Linked DNA regions of Homo sapiens: region 1 is linked to region 2. Evidence: promoter capture Hi-C in 16 types of primary human blood cells and fetal thymus (Javierre and others, 2016). All regions are on one chromosome and are shown on one strand. Each heading gives the region's core, a stretch centred on a gene start or on the middle of the fragment in contact. The rest is flanking DNA. Distances are from core to core; before and after follow the strand shown.

Evidence for each region. Contacts are between HindIII fragments. The CHiCAGO score rates a contact against its expected background, and 5 or more counts as called.
Region 1: a fragment that was not itself captured here is called in contact with the fragment with the promoter of ING1 in region 2 in 1 of 17 cell types (non-activated CD4 T cells); the score reaches 7.5 in non-activated CD4 T cells.

What each region holds. Positions count from the first base shown.
Region 1 is chr13:97,430,253-97,436,928 of GRCh38, forward strand. RAP2A (RAP2A, member of RAS oncogene family) reads left to right here and starts at 3,917. Exons shown (of 2, transcript NM_021033.7): 1 at 3,917-4,532. The coding sequence starts at 4,219. RefSeq lists enhancers at 3,014-3,153, 3,101-4,032, 3,304-3,433, 3,454-3,503 and silencers at 3,654-4,013, 4,034-4,093. The HindIII fragment of the contact is 198 bases long and covers 3,495-3,692 here.
Region 2 is chr13:110,709,048-110,714,949 of GRCh38, forward strand. ING1 (inhibitor of growth family member 1) reads left to right here and starts at 4,653. Exons shown (of 2, transcript NM_198219.3): 1 at 4,653-5,238. The coding sequence starts at 5,103. It also overlaps a transcript of CARS2 not described here. RefSeq lists enhancers at 3,080-3,169, 3,770-3,819 and silencers at 3,310-3,649, 3,323-3,491, 4,490-4,839, 4,850-5,039, 5,200-5,489 and 2 more. The HindIII fragment of the contact is 10,550 bases long and covers 1-5,902 here.

The DNA of each region.
Region 1 (6,676 bases), core at 2,344-4,843, about 13 Mb before region 2:
TTTCCATACTCTTAATTTCTGCATTCTAATTCCTTTTCTTTTCAAAAGCACTGAGACATATCACATTTTTTAAAGGAAGAACAAAGTTTATTTTGCCCCTTCCTTTCCACTCCACATATATACTGCAGATTCTCAACTGTATTAGGAGCCTCACAGGTCAAGAAACCATCGTCTGCTCTCCTTATACTTGCCAGCAGCGTTTCACAGGTGCTAAATGTACTTGACATGCCCTTCCCCTTTATGTTTAATCAGAGGCATGCAGGCTTTAATAAGAAGCATTAGGAATCAGGGTTTTACAGTCGAAAAGTACCCCTCGCATTACAAACATCCTCTACTAATTTGTTTCTATTAAATTATCTGCATATTTGCTTCTTGCTGGTGTCAGGAAGTCCCAGAATACAGTACCTTTCCCACTTCATACCACCTTTTCCAACACCTTTTACAGAAAGAAAGGATGGACTTGGGTTTCCACGGTAACACAAGTGCGATAATTGAAGGTATCTGGCTATAGGTGAGATAACTCCCTTTCAGATTTAGTGGAGAGAGGAGAAATGAAGATTTTCTTTCTTTTTATTCTCCTGGCAATGCACTTTGGAAACTAAAGGGATCCTGCAGTGTCAGTTACTGCGTTAAGTTTTCACTATCTTACAGATTTACAGCTCTTGGGAATAATTCAAATTTCTTTTATATCATTTTTATTTTTTATTTCCCACAAACAAATGAAGATATAAGTTATTTCTATAATCATCTCAAAATAGAGTTTATGCTGGCATCGGAATGAACATGACTAAGGGGTTAGAAAATAGACATCCATCTCCCACCCAAGTCCTCTAAATTCTCTACACGTCCTGACATCCTTTTTATAGCAGCTAATCTTTCACCCAACATTTCACCTACAACCACAAATCAGGTAAGTACCATCATTTAAGCCAGAATAGGTGAGAAAATATGCTCCGACCTGTCATGTTTCTTTTGCCTCTTGGTGGTTAAAAATCAACCTTTATGGTACTGAGCATGAAATCTGAGGCCTGTCAATATAAGGCCTGTAAATAAATGAACTGTAACCACCCCAAGGGCTGCAGTCTCTATACCCCTTCTTATCAAAAACGTCAGCATTGATGAGAGGTCAGGGGAAATAGCCTGAGAAATGTCACAAAGCTGTCCTACTCTGTATTATGCTAAATGGAGTGACTACGGAGCCCACTCACTATTTTTGTGACAGCTTCAATCCAGAGCTTCTCAACATCTAGGGACCTAGGAGTCATGAAAACAGTTACTTAAGGCAACCTTCTGGACCCCACAATCCCAATACAAATTTCTCAAAAACATTAATCACTGGAACTTCATTCCTTGCAAAGTAAATGGACTTAGAGCTCCTTTGTAATGCAAGGTACTAGATGAGTTGTCATGATCTAGAGAGAAAGCTTCACGCTTCCTGGCTCTATTTAACAACCCTAAGAACTTCTTATCACCAAGATGCACAGTTAGAATCTTAAGACAGTCTGTCTTTCCTTGGAAAAGAAGTATAGCTTCTACTAACCCAAAGTAACCATGAATAAGCATACCAATTTTACACAAAATATGAGACTTCTGGAAAGCTAGGTGAACACCATACTTACCTACATCCTCTTGAAACATCCCTGCCAAAGTAGCTCAGATATGAAGCATCCATGTAAGCTCTTTCAATTTTAATTCACTATTTCATGTTAACTAGCCTAGGATGAAATAGTAGATCCTCTTCGGTTCCAGTTCCCTTAAAACAGTCCTGATTCTTAGTCCTTTTTATTAATATAATACCTTCACTGCTGATTCTGGTGGCTCAGATAGTACCATTCATATTTTAATGATATGTAATCAAGAAATGCTGAGTTATATTTTACTACATACACATTTTTAAATTCAGAGGACATTTGTCCTTGATAATTTTAAATGAAAACTTGGTGTGTGTTCATTACAGCAAGGTAATGCAAATATAAGTTATCCATTCTAATATAACGAAGCTATAGGGAAATAAGAAACTACTAAATTTGAGTAGTCTTTGTAGTAGTTTGACTATCGACAGAAAAGATGGTGAAAGAATACCTGGCTTTTAACTCAGACCAAAATCCCCTCTGCATGATGACCTTGTGGGAAAGAGGAACGGGGAGAGGTATGCCAGGCTCTAACAACAGAACTACAGAAACGTGTTATTCGCAGGAAATGTGCGACAGTAACGAACAGGTGAGACTAGTTTGAGAAGGACATAGTTTAAAGAAAGTAAACTGAATAACCAGTTACTGCAAAAAATAATGCAGGAAAGCTTGGGGATGTATCGTCTCCTAAATTTGACGTTATGGGTGGGAGAGGATGTGTAACTAAGATGCAATGCTAGCGACAGAACGCTAAGTTTTAAAACTCAATAGTGAAAGAAAAAAAATAATGTTTTGGGAGGAACGCCTGGAAGACCCATGCAACTGCTGCACGATGTTTCCTTAAGGACCGGAACATTTCTCACCCTGAAGACAAAAGTCCCTGTGTTCTCGATTCAGCCCACATCCCTCAGCACCATTTCCATGCCCATCATTTAGGCAGAATGCCACGGAGGCGACGTGAAAAGTGGAATTCATCATTCTGGCTTGCAACGCATCTTGTTCTTTTGCCAGAACAGGGCACAGCAACTGGCTCCTCAATCTCTGCCCCTCCCAAACCCCAGCAGCCGGTCCCTGTCTCCATCCCGCCGGCCTCGGTGGCAAGGGGCTCGCGAGCTCTGGTTGGCTTGGCCGAAGCTTCCGTCACTCGCCAGCTCACCTACGATTGGTTGGCAGAGCGTGCGCGAAGAGCCCCGCCTGGCAAGGCACTGGGAGGTGGGCTTGCGGATCCTACGACTAGCGTTTTTCTCGATTGGTTGAAGGAGTAAAGGCACGTGGTATGGGGGCGCTCTCTTATTGGTCGTGAATGGTACCTTGTGGTACAGAGACGTGATGTGGTTGGCTAGAATGAATCCCAGCTTCCCACTAGATGCCCCTAGCTGGCTGTTGCTATGAGGAGTCCAGGGCCTTCCGGCTGCCGTTCGGGATTCCGCTCTCCAGGTTTTCAACTCACCCGTGGCTGACAGGGCGTGGGAAGAGCTCGACTTCAGTTCGGCACCGAAAGGGGCGGGTCTAGAAGAAATGTGGGCGGGTCCAGAGGGTTGGTGGGCGGGACCCCGGCGACGTCAGCGGGCTTGGACCCGACTTCCGTGGTGTGTGGCCGCCTCTGACTCGCCCCTCTGGCGCGCTGCTAGAGGGGGGCGTCACCCTCCCATCAATGTCCTAACGCTCCAAAGCTTCATTTTGTTGCGTTTACACAACTTCAGTCAGAAGCCTGTAGGTGCCCCCCCCTTAAAGCTTCACATGCTAATACAAGATAAAACCAAAGCTCTAGGAGTGCTGACAGACTGGGTGGCATCGGACAAAGGCCCTCGCGGCCCCTCTTGGGCCTTGGGCATCTCTCCTTCACTCCCCGCCTCAGGATAAAGCTTGGAGGTAGCTCTAGCCCCTCTACCATCTCATCCCTTCCGAATTCTTAATGTCTCGGGAGTCTCAGGTTGACGCTGCTCCTGGCTTGGGCGGGAACTGCGCATGCTCGGTACACAGGCCCTGGGGTCTGACTGGGCGCGCTGGGTTCGGCGCTGCTCGGCGGTCGCGGTGCTTGTTTATCTCCGCGCGGGCAGAAGCTTCCGAGCCCCGCAAAGCCTCTCGGGAGCGCTCGCGGCCCGTCGCCTAGGGGGCGGGGGCGGGGCTGCGCCGCGGGCTCCGCCCCGGCCGCCGGACCCCGCCCCTGGCCGCGCTGCGGCTGGGGCTCGGGCGCGCGCTCGAGCGCTGGGGGTAGCGGCGGCGGCGGCGGCGGCGGCGGGCGGGGATCTGGGCGTGGAGGCGCGAGGGGCGGGGCGGGCGGCACTGCGGGCCCGCGGCTCGGGCGGCACCAGCGGCTCCCGGTCTCTCTCTCTGCTCGCCCTCAGTCCCACCCGGTGCCTACGGGGCCGCATCGCCGCCCGGCTCGGCCCGGCCCATGCCCAGGGCCGCTGCTCCCTCAGTTGCCGCCGCCGCCGCCGGCGCCCAGGGGGCCGCCGCGGCTGTGAGGTGGGGGCGGCAGCGGGAGGCGGCGGGGCGGGCCGCCGGGGCCGGGGCTGGGGGCGCAGCGCGGCCGGCGTAGGTCTATGTCGCGGGCGGCGGCGGCGGCGGCGGCCGCGGAGGGACGATGCGCGAGTACAAAGTGGTGGTGCTGGGCTCGGGCGGGGTAGGCAAATCCGCCCTGACCGTGCAGTTCGTGACCGGCACCTTCATCGAGAAATACGACCCCACCATCGAGGACTTCTACCGCAAGGAGATCGAGGTGGATTCGTCGCCGTCGGTGCTGGAGATCCTGGACACGGCGGGCACCGAGCAGTTCGCGTCCATGCGGGACCTGTACATCAAGAACGGCCAGGGCTTCATCCTCGTCTACAGCCTCGTCAACCAGCAGAGCTTCCAGGACATCAAGCCCATGCGGGACCAGATCATCCGCGTGAAGCGGTGAGCGAGGGCACACGGGGGCTTGGCGGCTGCACCCCGGAGTCACCGTCCCGGGGCTGGAACTCCCCGCGCGGGGCTCCGGGGAAGGGGCTTTCTGGGGGGTGGCTCCAAGCTGGAGGCTTTACTATTGTCATTCTGCTCCTCCTCCTCAATCTCAAATTTGAGTGCTTTGTTTCACAACTAAAATTTGGCATCGTGTTAGCCCACAGAACAGCTCTTTGTCTCTTGGACGTTGTTAGCATTGCTTGTTACAGAGCCCCCAAGGAAACAAAGTTTAAAACTTGCAGGGGGGAAAGGGGTGGATAGATTTGTCTTGGGAAGAGAGGAACTGTGCAGGTATAGTCGAGACATTTGCAGACTGAACAACAACAATCTGCCTTGGCAATGTTTGACAGTAAAAATCGCTCACACACCTATACAGTAAAGTCAAGTCCAGAGGAAGGAGACCTTTCTCATCTCGTTAAAGGTTTATGGTTCCAAGGCGTTTTACAAAAATTAAGTCTCTAATTTAGTGCAAAACTTTAAAGACAGATTATTAAATTATTTGAAGACATCATAAGCTAAATGGGGTTTCGAGAATATTAACAGAGGAGTACAAATAAGCCATTCACAGGAAAAGAATGCAGCTTAACTGTTTGTTTTTGTTTTTTTGTTTTTAATATAGCCGCCTTAACCCCTTCCAAAAAAAAAAAAAAAAAAAAAACACCACCACACCACCACCACCAGTTCCTGGAAACAAAACAGAAGCTTCTTCAAAAGTGTGACACAAGTATTAGCTAATTTAAAGTTAATGTTAATAAGCCTTTATATATATATATAAATTCTTTTCTAAAGTATACATTTTGGAAATATGGCTGATAAATGATTTAAAATGTTTGTTTTCTCTTAAATTCACTGAATATATTTTTCCGTGTAATTTTAAGCATTAGAAATGTGATAATATCTTAGTTCAAAGTTTTGGCAAATTTTTCTAATTATCATTTAATTACACATTACTGTTTCATCTAGTTCTTGTTAGTTAATGCCTGCTGATAATTTTGGTGTCCTTTTTTTCCTGCCTTATTCTACCTAGAGCCTAAATCTGAAGACCTTTACTGAAAGATGGTTGTAAGTGCACCGTAGACACAGTCACATTGTAAGTCAGTTTGAGTCCACTCATTTTGAAAGAGCAAGGACCAAGTTATGTGTACCCAGGGGATGATCAAAAATTCATTACGAGTAGTGAGTTTTTAATGCAACCTATGAGATCAAAGAGAAGGCTCTCTCTCTATTGCTCCACCCCCCCTTAACTGAGTATGCACTTTAATCGCTGAACTAAAATCGTGCATGTTATTCATCCTTGTGTTAAATTCCAAACTAGAATAAAGCAGATATTTTCGTGGTCTCTGCTGCTAAGATTTGTAAATTTGATAGCTTTGTACTTCTCCAGTATCATTTTCCTAAAGTTAAATGTTTATAGTTAAGAGATGAACAATTCTGGTGTTAAACTTAGTATGAGGATGGCATTTAAGGGGCTACATTTAAGTTACTTAAATTCTTATTACCCCCTCCCCCAACCACTCAATTAAAAAGAAACAAACCAAACCAACTGCAGGGTAGTCTGATACATTGCCACATGTCAATGTTAGGCCAAATGCATACATCAAAAAATAATCTAAGTAAATGCCCCAACAGCCTCACCCTTCACATTTAGATATATATGCTTAAAGATATGAAGATGCACATATACACTGATAAAGCCACATACCCATGGCTAACTTCTTGACACAAGCCTAGGGAACAAATATGGCAAAATATTATTGGATAATATGGTCCACATAATTTTGTAGTTTCTTGTAATTTAGTGCAGATTACTTTTCTCAGTTATAATAATAGGTTAGTCTAAACTCAGCATATTGGAGCAATTTGTTTATTTTCACTATGACCCAGAGGAAAAACATAGAGTAAAATTCTGCATGCCCAGTATCATTTTACTCACTAGTCTCAGTTCTTGATATAAAAAGATCATTGATCAGCTGAAGTAGAGTTCATAAATTCTCTTCACCAGAATTCAACCGTTGTATACATAAGAACCTCTTGGACCCTCACTTGTGTGTCTTTGTAATATGGTAGTAGTAAGGTATTTTACACCTCATCCTAACCCC
Region 2 (5,902 bases), core at 3,403-5,902:
CACCACACCTGGCCAATTCTCTTTTCTCTTTTTTCTTTTTTTTTTTTTTGAGATGGAGTTTCACTCTTGTTGCCCAGGCTGGAGTGCAATGGCGTGATCTCCTGGGTTCAAGCGATTCTCCTGCCTCTTTCTCACGTCTCCCGGGTTCAAGCAATTCTCCTGCTTGTCTCCTGAGTAGCTGGGATTACAGGCATGTGCCACCATGCCCAGCTAATTTTGTATTTTTAGTACAGATGGGGTTTCTCCATGTTAGTCAGGCTGGTCTTGAACTCCCGACCCCAGGTGATCCGCCCACCTCGGTCTCTGAAAGTGCTGGGATTACAGGCATGAGCCACCGTGCCCGGCAGCTAATTCTGTTTTCTTAAGGCTTTTGCGGATCATCAAAACAAGGAGAAACATAGCTCATTACCTAATGATGGTTAGAAATGTGATCTTTTTGCATATTGAATATCTGCAGGTTGAATATTAAGGTAAAGTAAAATAGACTGCTAATGCTCTTCATTACTATACCTCCCAGCCTACATCTTTCTCCTGTGCTGGGTGCTTCCTGCCCTCGAACATCAGACTCCAAGTTCTTCAGTTTTGGGACTCAGACTGGCTCTCCTTGCTCCTCAGCTTGCGGACAGTCTATTGTGGGACCTTGTGATTATGTAAGTTAGTACTTAATAAACATATATATGTATATACATTATATATATCTATATCTCCATCCTATTAGTTCTGTCCCTCTAGAGAACCCTGACTAATACACCATATATACATAAAAAGAGGATCCATTTAATTGAAGTCACCTCCCTCTCCAATCTAGGTCAGAACGAGGAAGTGTGTTAAAGTTAATGATTCCAAAATATCACTAATGCCATTTCTCAGTCCTTAATGACAACAATAACAAAATCAAGTTCTCAGTATTACATTTTCTTTCAAGGCAAAATCTTGTAAATCAGAAGTAGAGTTGATTACGGTAGCATATGGTTTAGGGGTTTTCAAGTTTAAGATGAATGAGTTTGCATTTATTTTTTAAGCACTTTGAAACTTAAACAATTCTATGCTTGGCCAGGCGCGGTGGTTCACGCCTGTAATCCCAGCACTTTGGGAGGCCAAGACAGGCGGATCACCTGAGGTCAGGAGTTCGAGACCAGCCTGGGCCAACATGACAAAACTCCGTCTCTACTAAAAATACAAAAATTAGTTGGGCATGGCGTCCGGCACCCGTAATCCCAGCTACTCAGGAGGCTGAGGCAGGAGAATCGCTTGAACCCGGGAGGCGGAGGTTGCAGTGAGCTGAGATCACGCCACTGCACTCCAGTCTGGGTGACAAGAGCAAGACTCCGTCTCAAAAAAAGAAAAAGAATTATATGTTCATCTCTTATATCTGACTCTCATAGGTTTGAGCATTTTCAGTTAGACTGGAAATATAATTTTAGAAAAAAGTTTAATTTTAAATGTTTCTTTTTAATCCATTTGAAATTTCTGTTCTACGGAAAAGTTTTAACATCCATTTTTGCAACACGCCACAGGAAACAAAACTGAAAGAGACAAGATTCTTCAACGTATCTTCAAAATTAAGCACCTTTCTTCAATGACATTTAAAATTCGTTATCAAAGGTAATTATGTTTTATTGCTTGATCTTCTAAGTTTGTTCCAAAAAAGATAAAATCTTTTTTGACTTTTTATCCCAAGGGGTGGGCTAAAAGTTTTATGGAATGTAAAGCTCCAAAAAACTTTTCACTACTGTATCCCCAGCGCACGGACCAGTAGTTGGCACATGGTAGACACTCGTCAATATTCCTTGTTGAATGCTTAAGATGCCTTTTTGGTTTATGTGTATGTGAAGAGAGTACATAACTAGAGGAACAAAATCATTACTCAGATTGTACTGTGTTGTGATTTTTTTTTTTAAAAAGAAAACCTAGGTTAAACTCCATCTTATCTTTGTAAAGGGTAAATTACTTCCAATTTTATTCTTGAGTTCAGATAAACACTATTCATTCTAGAGCCAATGAATGCTAGGAATAGAAGAACCGGTCTATTTCTTACTATTGTACTTTTAAATTACTTATATGCTTTTTGAGGGAAAGGCGTAATTTTCCTTATTCAACTTTGTACTCCCTCTATACTCTGTATTCGACATAATGTTTGTTTCCACATAATGTTATCTTGTCGTAGTCTTTTTTTCTCTTTTTTTCCGGAGATAGTCTTGCTCTGTCGCCCAGGCTGGAGTGCAGTGGCACAATCTCGGCTCACTGCAACCTCCCCTCCTAGGTTCAAGTGATTCTGTCTCAGCCTCCCCAATAGCTGGGACTACAGGCACGCGCCACCATGCCCTGCTAATTTTTTGTATTTTTAGTAGAGACAGGGTTTCACCATGTTGCCCAAGCTGGTCCCGAACTCCTGATCTCAGGCAATTCGCCCGCCTCGGCCTCCCAAAGTGGTAGGATTACAGGCGTGAGCCACCGCGTCCGGCCAAGTGTTATAGTCTTTTGTGCAGACCAAGTAGTGGCCAATAAATCTTGTAGAAACTAAAGTACTCATTTGCTTTTAACTAGGCCAAGACTAGAATAGCGTGATCTGTAAGTAAAATAACAGCCATTTCCCCAAATATCAAAGCCAAAGCTCTCCTGCTGTGTAGGTGAGATGAAGGGGCTTAAAAGTGAAGATTAAATCCACTTCAAAGTGTAAAGAGTATCCATCCATTTATCATTGCAGCAACGTTGCAACGTGAACAATCCGATTCCAAATACAAAACAGCTTAATTCAGTCTCTTTGCCGTACTCACATCCATAGCACAAAATACCCGGCAGGGCCCTGGAATGAGCACCACTGCGGTTAATAATCTACTCTATAAATACTGGACGAATCCAAATTTTTACTGGATTACACAGAATACGTTTTTAAAAAATCCAAAGAGTTTTAGATGTTACAACAGGGTTCCATCAAATACCACGTTTCCAAATCTTACCACCAGAATGTGTATCCATTTCAACTGCAATTATTTTGTGTCTAAAACTGTGTACTCTGCTTTGCAACAGGATAAACCCGGTGGATAAAAGCTGAAATCCGACCCTGTCCTAATTAAGAGGCTAAGAAAAATGGAGAACCGCGCTGGCGTGGAGTTGATACAGAAACACTGCAAGGGCTGGGGACAGGGCTTAGTTCGTGGAATACACAGGCAGCACCACCAACCCGGCTCTCCGGAAAAGAGAAAGTCCAGTGAGAAAGGTGAAAACTGACAAGGCACCGTTCTCCGACTTGCTGAAAAAAAGACAATGCAAATAGAGCAGGGTCCAAGGCGGAAGAAAATCAGAGAAAAGCAGGCAGCCAAGCGTGGCGAACACAGCTCTCGGGGCCACCCCGGAGGGGACCCGCGGCGGCCGCAGCGGGGCGGAGGCCGAAGCCGAGGCCGCCCCGGAACCAGAGAGCCAGGCGGGAAGTGCACAAAGGCACGAGGCCACGCCCAGGAGGGGCGGGCCCTTTGGCCGGAAGGGGGGGGGCCGGCGCGCGGGGCCGGTCGCCTAGGCAACGGGCTCGCGTGGCGTCCAGGCTTCTCAGAAAGCCCAAAATCCGGGAGCTTTGGGAGGGTAGAGGGGCGACGCGGGGGAGGGCGGTCCGGGGAGCTGAATGGCCTCAGGACGCCGGCCGACCGGGTGTCTGCATACTGTGGGCGGCCTTTCCAAGTGTGGGGAGCGGCCTCCGAGAACGGTGTCCATGACACAGGGCGGGAAGAGATAAGGCCTAGGGAAGGCGCCCCTCGGGCCTATCCACCTCTTCTGGGGCTCGGCACTAGGAAGCAGCTTCCCTCTCAGGCCCCTTTGTCTCCAAGCCGTTCCAAACTGAGTACCGGGAGACGACACAAAGGGAGGGCGGTGACGGATGGCGCAGGCGCGGGAGCCGCCTAGGCTGCTGGGAGTGGTGGTCCGGCCGCGGAATGGGTAGGTCTCCCGCGCACTCTGCGGCCGCAGCTCAAAGGACACCGAGAGGGTGCCAGTGCGCATGCGCCGCCACTTCCGCCCGTGCCCGGCCCTCCCCTTCCTTCCGCCTCCCGGAGGACTTGGGTTTCTAGTAGTAAGAGTCCGGGGGGCATTACTCACGGTCTCCCCGCCTCCTCTTCATCGTGATTGGGCTGTCAAAGTGATGTTGGCAAGTAGATTGGCTACTGCGGTTGCCAGTTCTGTTTCGGGCCCTACTTATACTGCTCTGTGGGGCGGGGACGAAGAGTCAGGGGCTGAGGAGCGAGTTGCGGTAGTTGCTGTGTACCATGGTCTCGGAGGTTTCTGTCCCGCGGCCCGTTAGGTCCTGGTCGGGTTTTCAGCGAAGCAGGCCGCTCCCCTGCGTTTCCCAGCGGGCGTGCTGTGCCGCCCAACAGGCTCTGCCTCCAAGTGCCAAAAACTCCTAGTAAAGTTTGCGCCTCGCCCGCCGTCCACACCCCAGCGGCCCTGACGCTGTCCCCTCCGCGACCCTCGCCTCTGGAAAAAGTGACAGGCAAGGCCACGCCCCCGCGAGGGCCGGCCTGGAGCCCGCAGCCCCCAGGGCCTGGGACGGTGAGGGGCGTGAATGCGGCGGGGGGCGGGGCCGTTGCCGGGGGAGGGGGCCGGGGCGCATGCGCGCTGCGCAGCGGGGCTGAATGTTTCCCAAGTGTTTGAAACTGGTATTTGGGTTTTCCACGTTGGACAAGTGCGGCTCGGCGGCCAGCGGAGCGCGCCCCTTCCCGCTGCCCGCTCCGCTCCTCTCTTCTACCCAGCCCAGTGGGCGAGTGGGCAGCGGCGGCCGCGGCGCTGGGCCCTCTCCCGCCGGTGTGTGCGCGCTCGTACGCGCGGCCCCCGGCGCCAGCCCCGCCGCCTGAGAGGGGGCCTGCGCCGCCGGCCGGGGCGTGCGCCCGGGAGCCACCGCCACCGCGGCCCGCGCCCTCAGGCGCTGGGGTCCCCGCGGACCCGGAGGCGGCGGACGGGCTCGGCAGATGTAGCCGCCGGGCCGAAGCAGGAGCCGGCGGGGGGGCGCCGGGAGAGCGAGGGCTTTGCATTTTGCAGTGCTATTTTTTGAGGGGGGCGGGGGGTGGAGGAAGCGGAAAGCCGCGCCGAGTCGCCGGGGACCTCCGGGGTGAACCATGTTGAGTCCTGCCAACGGGGAGCAGCTCCACCTGGTGAACTATGTGGAGGACTACCTGGACTCCATCGAGTCCCTGCCTTTCGACTTGCAGAGAAATGTCTCGCTGATGCGGGAGATCGACGCGAAATACCAAGGTACGGCCGGGTGATGGATGGGCGGGGGCGGCCGCCTCCTTCCCGGCGGGTCCGGGCGCGCCGCGGAGCCGGGCCGGTCCTGCCGTGGACCGGAGGAAGCGGCCGGCTCCGCAGCGGCGGCCCTCGGCAGGGGCAGGAACAAAAGGTCTGGAGCGCCTTTGATTCGCCAAGGTCCTTGTGTGCAAAGCCCGGGACACGGAGGAGGAAGGAGGCGCGAGAGGTCTCGCTGCAAGGCTGCGCGACCAAAGCGCTCTTTGTAGTGAAGTGATGAGGCGGGTGCTGCGGGGGAGGGGGCGGCGGGTCCAAGCCGCGTCCTCTAGGAGGGGGTGCAGATTACGGCGCGAGATGGAGGGATGTGCCGGCGCCTGGGGCTATAGGGCGCCGAGACGGGGCTGCAGGAGGAGGGCGGCTGTGGGCCGGGGTTCCCGCGGACCCGGTGCCTCGGTCCCGGGCAACGCCGTTCCTCTGGCCCTTCTTCGTCGCCCCCCACTCAGTCCCGAATCTGAGTGTTACATAAAGTACCGGGTAGTACTCCGCTCGGGGTAGGTCGGCCGCCCCCGCCCAGCCCCCTCCGGCCCTCACTTGGAGCTGGACACCGAGTAGGGGCCGACTGCGAGGGGCGACGCCGCCGGTTGTAGTTTGCGGAGGACGAGGGCTTTTCTCT